Regions from separate parts of the Homo sapiens genome. Here region 1 is linked to region 2. The links are contacts of gene promoters, found by promoter capture Hi-C in blood cells and fetal thymus (Javierre and others, 2016). All regions are on one chromosome and are shown on one strand. Each heading gives the region's core, a stretch centred on a gene start or on the middle of the fragment in contact. The rest is flanking DNA. Distances are from core to core; before and after follow the strand shown.

Region 1 (4,039 bases), core at 1,282-3,781, 260 kb before region 2:
TGATGGCCTGTTCCCTCCTTTCTTTAATCATCTATAAAATGGAGTAAATACTAATTTTATGGTAGTGCTGTGAGGTTTTACACATGAAAAGTAGTTAGCACTTCGCCTGCTACACATAAATCCTCAGGGAGTGGCAATTATCAACCTCTTCACACTGGGTGGCGTGGGTTAACAGAGAGAACTAAGTGCCAAGCATCTGGTTTTATCCTAACTAGCTATAGAAACTTAGAAGAATATCCCCTCTCTAAGCCCCAGTTGACTGGAGAGTAACACCTTCCTCTATGGACACCTCATAGGTTTATTTTAAGAGGATCATATAAATGGGGACATGCAACAAGAAATTGACTAGTCCTCTCAGGTCACTCACTGCATCACTGGAGGATCTGAGGTCTAAGACTTTTACAGAGTAAACCCCCACCCCTGCAGGTACCTCAGTGTAATCAAGAGATTTAAACTGGTGGTCTCCAGGGGTGGCTCCCTGCCCTCCTCCCCCGCCCCTTTCTAAAACACATAGTTTGAATTCCTCTCTTATCAGATAGGTAATCAGCGTGCAGCCCCACAGAGCCAGCCTCCCAGGGCCTGCATCTGAAAAGCGCCTGAAATTCTTGTACCACCCCCATTCCACCCCCAACCACACACAAAGCAGGGCCCCGCCCCCTTCCCCATCCCCTCCAAAAAGAAAAGACCTTAGGGGGAGGGGCATGGCCTGAGCTCCCCCAGTAGAGCCCAGCCCCAGGAAACAAAGAGTTGACACTGGCTGGTTCTGGTGGTCAGATTCCTGGAGTTCCAAGGAGCAGATCCCTCTTGCATCTCCCTCTCCCTCCTCCCCACATTCAACTGTTTCTTCCTTCCTCTCTATGTTGGGGTTATGGTCACGGGAGAGAACTAGATATAGAAAATTCTTCCTTCCCCAGGCAGTCTTGCCAAAGTCACCATCAGCAGCCATCTCCCTTCTCTGGCTTGCGCACTGCCCACTTCATGGATAGAACCAAACAGGACCCCCTCCCCTTGGGTCTCTTCAGTCCAATCCTGAATTATTGATTCAGATAAATTATTTTAAAGGGGAGGGGGAGAGAAGGCATGACCCATATCATCCTTTCCCAATTTCTTCAAGTTAGGACTGTGGGGAGCCTACATGGGCCTACTGTGTTGGGGAATGTGGCATCAGACAACAGACAGCATTTCTTTTTCTTTTTTTTTTTTTTAAAAAGTCTGGCTCTGTTGCCCAGGCCGGAGTGCAGTGGCACAATCTCGGCTCACTGCAAGCTCCGCCTCCCGGGTTCACGCCATTCTCCTGCCTCAGCCTGCCGAGTAGCTGGGACTACAGGCTCCTGCCACCATTCCTGGCTAATTTTTTGTATTTTTAGTAGAGACGGGGTTTCACCGCGTTAGCCAGGATGGTCTCGATCTCCTGACCTCATGATCTACCCGCCTCGGCCTCCCAAAGTGCTGGGATTACAGGCGTGAGCCACCGCGCCCACCCCAAGCATTTCTTTTTCTTTTTTTGATAACAGGGAAGGAATCTCTCCAGTTAAAGTACTTAGGCCTTCTGATCCCTTCTTAATACCTCAGTAATTGCCTGCCTTACCCTATCCAACCCACACCAAGTACCTCATCCCAGCTTCAATTTATGCCTTTGCAAGCTTAGAGATAGAATGAGCCTTAGGGGTCACTTAGGAAATGTGGAGTTAAAAACAAAAGAAAACATTATAAAAGAAAAAAGTATGAAGAGAAAAAAAAAAAACAACACAAAGGAACCTAAGTGTCCTTTCTCCAGAAGTGGCAACAGAATTTCAGGGTACTTGCTACAGTTGTGCAGATTAAAGCTGGGGTTCTTGGCTCTTCCGCAAGAGGCTATTCCAGATCTTCTTCCAGGGCCATTCCAGCCGGAAGATTCTGTAGTGCAGGTCTCTACCTCAATTCTAGGTTCTTAGCTTGCACAAGCATTTGTTGAATGTCTAAGTACTATGCAAAATAACTGTTACTAATTGATTCTTACTGTAGGCTAAGTGGCATTCTAACCACTTTACGTGTTGTAACTCATTTAACCCTCATATCAAACTGGTGCAGTGGGGTGATATGAAGACCCTCATTTTACAGCTTGAGGACATGGAGGCAGAGGGGTTAATAAGCACCTTGGTTAAAGTCGCAATAAGAGGCAAGAGCTGAGCTGAGTGCAGCTGGCCTAACTCTCCCCAGTGCAATTCATTATGATGCAAGTCACATATATAATTGAAAACTTTCTAGTAGCTACGTTTAAAAAAGCAGCTGATGAAAGTAATTTTAATGATTCAGTCCTGTGGTGTCACATCCCTAACTTAGCTTCATTCCTGGAGGTAAGATTTGGTAAGGGAGAACCAACCGGTTCTCCCAGAAGCAGTTATTCGATGGTGTGTGTGTCAAGGAGGGTGTGTGTCAAGGAGGTTGGTGAAAGGGGTGTCTGGAACAGAAGGCTGCAGGCAGCCAATCCCTCTGATCCCCTCTGCTCAGCCACAGCCAGGCCCTGTAGCTCCTGCCTGGAGTTCTCCACCAGATGGCGCTGCTCAGCCTGTCTGCCCAAAGGTAAGCCCGAGGGCGCCTATACCAGGAGGTACTGAGTGGCCCGCTACCTGGTCTGAGCTGTGAACTCAAGTGTTCGGGTAGATTTATCTCCACAGCTCCTTAGGGCAGTCATCTTGTCCTCCCCGTCCCACCCTGCCCCCACCCAACCACCGGCTTGATCAGGGATAAGAATGAAAGGTTCCTAGACTTTTAGGCCAGAAACTCAGTTCTTATATTCTACTGCTTAGAAAAGCCAAGTCCTGTCTAAATTAAATAACACCACGCTGGGCCAGTCATGGTGGCTCATGCCTGTAAATCCAGCACTTTGGGAGGCCGAGGCAGGCGGATCACCACGAGGTCAGGAGTTCGAGACCAGCCTGGCTAACATGGTGAAACCCCATCTCTACTAAAAATACAAAACATTAGCCGGGCATGGTGGCAGGTGCCTCTAATCCCAGCTACTCGGGTGGCTGAGGCAGGAAAATCGCTCAAACCTGGGAGGTGGAGGTTGCAGTGAGCTAAGACGGCGCCACTGCACTCCAGCCTGGGCAACAGAGAGAGATTCCGTCTCAAAAAAAATAAAAAACCTCGATGGTGAGATCATGTTAAATAAGTCTGTATCAACTGTGTATTCTCCCCCAACTCCTTTGACCTCCCACTCTGACTATGTGGCCAGTGGTTGCTATTCATGCCTGCAGGAAGACAGGAGGCATAGTTTTACCTAGGGCAGTTACTCCAAAAAACAAGAATTCCAGTAGAGTGTGATTAGCAATGTTCAAAAAACTAAATGGCCCTGGTGAATGTTACTGAAAACCACTTGTAAGGCAGGCAGCAGTGTCAACAACCAGAGGGTAGAAACATCCCATATTTGAAGCTTTGTTCAGGATGGTGTCACAGCCTTTACTTTACACTGTCGCCGGGCATCATGGCTCATGCCTGTAATCCCAGCACTTTGGGAGTCCCAGGCAGGTGGATCACTTGAGGTCAGGAGTTTGAGACCAGCCTGGACAACATGACGAAAACCCTTCTCTACTAAAAATACTAAAATTAGCTGGGTGTGGTGGTGTACATCTGTAATCCCAGCTACTTGGGAGGCTGAGGCAGGAGAATTGCTTGAACCCAAAAGTCAGAAGTTGCAGTGAGCCGAGTTCGTGCCACTGCACTCCAGCCTGGGCGACAGAGCAAGACTCTATCTCAAAAAATAAAAATAAAAATAAAAAAAAGACATTGTCTAGAAGCATGTCTCAGAAAGAAGAGGACCCCAGAAGATTCCACAATGTCTTCATGAACCTTCCTACCTCTCTACCAACTTTCTGAAAAATCGAGTCAATTTATTTTTAAGCTGCCTTTTCTTATTAAGACAGAAATAACTCATGGATGACCACTAAATCCGTGGCTTCCACTCTGTCAACAAAAACGAGAGGAACCTCTCTGGGCTCCGAGTGGTGATCTACCCATATTCACTCCACAAACTTTCATAGTGCTATGTTGTGCCCAG
Region 2 (3,988 bases), core at 1,007-3,506:
GGGTCCGTCCTCTGGACGGGGTGGAGGGAGGGGCCAGGAGCATCTTAGCAGAGCTGGTCAGGACAGTGCCCCATAAGTAGCCAGCCACGGGGCCTAGAGCAATTGGCTTGGGCTCTCACTGACCTGCAGGGAGAGAGGAAGGTCAGGGGAAGGGTAGGAAATGCCCCTGGTCCTCTCCTGCCGGCATTCCTCAGTATAGGATCAGTCAGCCACCCTCTCCCATCCAGGTTAGCCGGTGCCACATCCAGGGAGCAGAGGCTCAGGCCATCCCCTTTCCCTGTCCTTCAGAGACATTGAGTGGGGTCTCTCTGGCCACTCAGAAACATATTCCCCTTTGAAGGTGCCCCAATCTGGCCACAGGGTCGTGCAAGCAGGCCTTAGCAAGCAGGACACTTGGAAAAGGAAACAGGGCTGGTCCCGGCCCAATTCCTGAAAGTGGCTTCAACCGGAAAAAATACCTCTTCCCAACCCAGCAGCTTTGAGCCCAAGACAAGAAGGCTCCCAGCCACAGGCTGGCTCCAGCAGGGCCCACCCTTCCCGCCCCCAAACACCGAGGTCGGGGATATAACCACAGGGTAGGAGCCTCCAGTAATTGCAGCCAACTGCCCTGCCCAGGCCCAGCAGGGCCATCGGGGCAGGAGAGGGAGGTGGTCCCCAGGCCCTATCAGCTACTGCCAGCTACTCTGCCCCTGCCAAGGGGATCGCAGAATGCCAAACTGTAAACATCACCTTGTTTAACCTTTGCATTTCCATTTCATGAAGAGGAAACTGGCTTGGAGAGGAGGGGGGCTTGCTCAGGTCCTATTGAGAGTTAGGAGCCAGGACTGGAACCCAGGTTTCTTTTTTTTTTTTCTTTAGACGGAGTCTTGCTTTGTCACCCAGGTTTCTTGCCTTGCAGTTCAGATTGGATCTCTCACTTGCCTATCAGAACTTCCCACTGAGGCCAGGCGCGATGGCTCATGCCTGTAATCCCAGCACTTTGGGAGGCCGAGGTGGGTGAATTACCTTAGGTGAGGAGTTCCAGACCAGCCTGGCCAACATGGCAAAACCCCATCTCTACTGAAAATACAAAAATTAGCCAGGCGGGGTGGCGCACACCTGTAATCCCAGCTACTTGGGAAGCTGAGGCAGGAGAATCGCTTGAAGCTGGGAGGCGGAGGTTGCAGTGAGCCGAGATCGCGCACCACTGCACTCCAGCCTGGGCAACAGAGCGAGACTCCGTCTCAAAAAAAAAAAAAGAAAAAAAAAAAGAACTCACTGATATTTTGCGTGTATTCCCGCTGCTATAAAACCAAGCAATTTCCGTTAGAAATGGGCCCCTTGCCTCACTAAAAAGTTCCTTCCACTAATTCTTCCTAATAACCTGCGCTCCCACTCCCAGAAATTTGCCCCCAGGGTCCTTGTCCCTTTTTTATCCTAAGACCTCATGACCCTTTTCCACCTCCCTTCTGCTGGGGCAAGGAGCGAGGAGGGGTTGTAAATCAAGAGCTGACAGTTCTCTTGGCAGTAACAGAATGGGCCACCCACATGGCCCTGCACACCCGACCCCACCCCTATCTTCCCCTACTCCCCCTGAGTCCTGGAGGCTGAGGGACCTTGGATCTGGGGACAACAAAGGAACAGAATTAGCCAGGGAAGTGGGGAAGGAGTCTGTGAGAGGCCTTGGGGCAGAGACCCTGCCAGGTCCAGCCCACCCCTGCACCCAGCATCTAGTGTGTAGTCAGTCTGCTCATAGGTAGTTGAGGCCTGGGAACCAAGGAGAGTCTGGCAGTGTCCCCCTCCCTGTCTCCCAGGGAGTCTCCTTGGCAGTGGGTCAGATTCCAAGGTCCCAGGAAGGCACTGCTTGTCTGACCCCATGGGTGCCCTCTGTCCTCTCCTCTTCTCCCCAGCCCTGAGCAGGGAGACTATAAAAAGTTCCTAATCACAAGGACCAAAATAGTCTGTCATCCACAGCCTCTTCCCTGCCTTCTGGGCTAGCCTGGAGGCCGGACCTCAGACATCCCGCCCTAGAAGCCTGGCAGGCAGCCTCGGGCCCTCCATTCCTTTGCCTGCCTTCTCCCAGTCCTGAAACTTGTGGTCTCAACTCTGCCCAAGGCTTCTGCTCTGGGCATGGGCCATCTTTTAGGCTCACTAGTTTGGCACCAGTCTCCCTGCCCTCAGGCCCCTGGGTTCCTTCTTACCCCAGCCCTGGGCTCAGGGTACACTCACCTCTGCATGGGAGGCCTAATTGCAGGGGTCCTTGGGCAGGTCCAGACTGAGGGCAGGAGTGGACAGCAAGGACTAGAAGTAACTTTGGTGGCAGCCAAACCTCACTCTCCACAGGAAAAGCAGAGAAAGCCTCCACCCCCCGCCCCCCAAATTAACCCTCGCCTTCCTGAGGCAGATCCTGGCCTCCATTAACTCTTTCCTGATCACAGTCCTGCGCTGTGGAGACCTGTGAACCAAGTCCAGCTCCTTTTATTTTACAGATGGTCAAACAGTCCCAGCCCGGTTAGGTGATTGGCTGTGGAAGCACTGTGAGCTTGGGCAGAGCCAGGACTCCAAACAAGGCCTCCTGATCCCCAGGCTTCCTCCAAAGGCCTGGGGTGGGGGCTCCGTATGTGGGATCAGCCCCCTCCCTGGGCTGTGGCAGATGCTCTGACAGTCTGAATGGGAAGGCAGAACAGGGTTCTAGTCAACTTGCTTTTTTCCCTCTGTAGCAGGCTGAGACCTGTCTTGGTCTGGGTGCTGGGTGGTGTCAAGCCTGCTTTCCCTGGGGGCGAGACCAGGAATCTGCAGCCTAAGGGTGGGGGCATTGGTGCTATAGATGTGCAGGTGAGCCTGTGGCGGCAAGTCTTGTCATGAAGGTGACCCTGGAGCCCACTGGAGCTGCCTCTGCCAAGGTCCTTTCATGGCAGATGGGATTGCCTGGGAAGACAGTGATGAGGGGCTGATTCCAGGGCCAAGCCCAGGTCCTTTGGCCCGCTTCCTTCTCTGCCCACACTTGGAGCCTCTTAGAGCTTCTTCCATCAGAGTTTCTTCTCTGACACCTTATGTCTCAAGGTGAAACCCTACCTCATAGGAGACACCTCCCCTCTCCCCAGCAGGCAAACTAAACTCTCCAGCCCAGACTAAGACCAGTGCTCAGGCCAAAGGTTCCTTTCCCCCCTTGGCTGGCCACCTTCCCCAAGTCCCTCCTCCTCCTTTCTAGCCCTCTTTCATGTTTGCAAAGCACATTCCCGTCTGTGCTCTCTGATCTCCTTTGACCGCCCCCAAACAAGGACCCTAGACAGGCGTCCAGCAGGAATGACCCCCCACTTAATGAGTAAGGAAACAGGAGCTGAGGGGGGAGAGAGATGCCCAAAGCCCAGCTCCAAATCCACATTTGGAACTGCATCCTCTGCCTGTCAAGTCAGTAGTGGGTCTGAAAACCCAAGGCCCATCTCCCGGTAAAAGGTTTTTATTACCTAAAGGGGGGATTTTGTTGGTGATAGTTCCATATTTTGTTGCTACAGCACTTTTCAAAATGCCATTAGCTGCTTTGTCATAATCCCCATGACAATCTTTGGGGGAGGTTTTATTATTTTTCACACTTACGGCTGAAGAGACTGAGGCTCAGAGAGGAGAAATGACTTATCCAAGCTCACCAAACTCTGTCACCCAGGCTGGAGTGCCGTGACGTGATCTTGGCTCACTGCAACCTCCGCCTCCTGGGTTCAAGCGATTATCCTGCCTCAGCCTCCCGAGTAGCTGGGATAACAGGCAAGTGCCTGGCTAATTTTGTGTTTTTAGTAGAGACAGGGTTTTACCATGTTGCTCAGGCTGATCTTGAACTTCTGACCTTGCGATCTGCCGGCCTCGGCCTCCCAAAGTGCTGGGATTACAGGTGTGAGCCACCTCTCCCGGCCAATAGCTAACTTTTATTGAGAGATTAATATATGTTAGGGGCTATTCTAAGTACCTCACATAAGGATTAACATATTTAATCCTCAAAACAACCCGATGAAAT

Evidence for each region. The method cuts DNA at HindIII sites, captures the fragments that hold promoters and counts their contacts. A CHiCAGO score of 5 or more calls a contact.
Region 1: a contact is called between a fragment that was not itself captured here and the fragment with the promoter of FAM110D in region 2, in 12 of 17 cell types (M2 macrophages, M0 macrophages, M1 macrophages and 9 more). The highest score is 15.0, in M2 macrophages.

What each region holds. Positions count from the first base shown.
Region 1 is chr1:26,415,709-26,419,747 of GRCh38, reverse strand. The region is part of intron 2 of LIN28A (lin-28 RNA binding posttranscriptional regulator A); the gene reads right to left. Among named protein-coding and RNA genes, the nearest start is that of LIN28A, 6.9 kb to the right of the region's middle. RefSeq lists an enhancer at 637-1,208. The HindIII fragment of the contact is 1,772 bases long and covers 1,646-3,417 here.
Region 2 is chr1:26,157,347-26,161,334 of GRCh38, reverse strand. FAM110D (family with sequence similarity 110 member D) reads right to left here and starts at 2,256. Exons shown (of 2, transcript NM_024869.3): 1 at 2,209-2,256; 2 at 1-123. The coding sequence starts at 43. RefSeq lists an enhancer at 3,982-3,988. The HindIII fragment of the contact is 9,541 bases long and covers 1-3,988 here.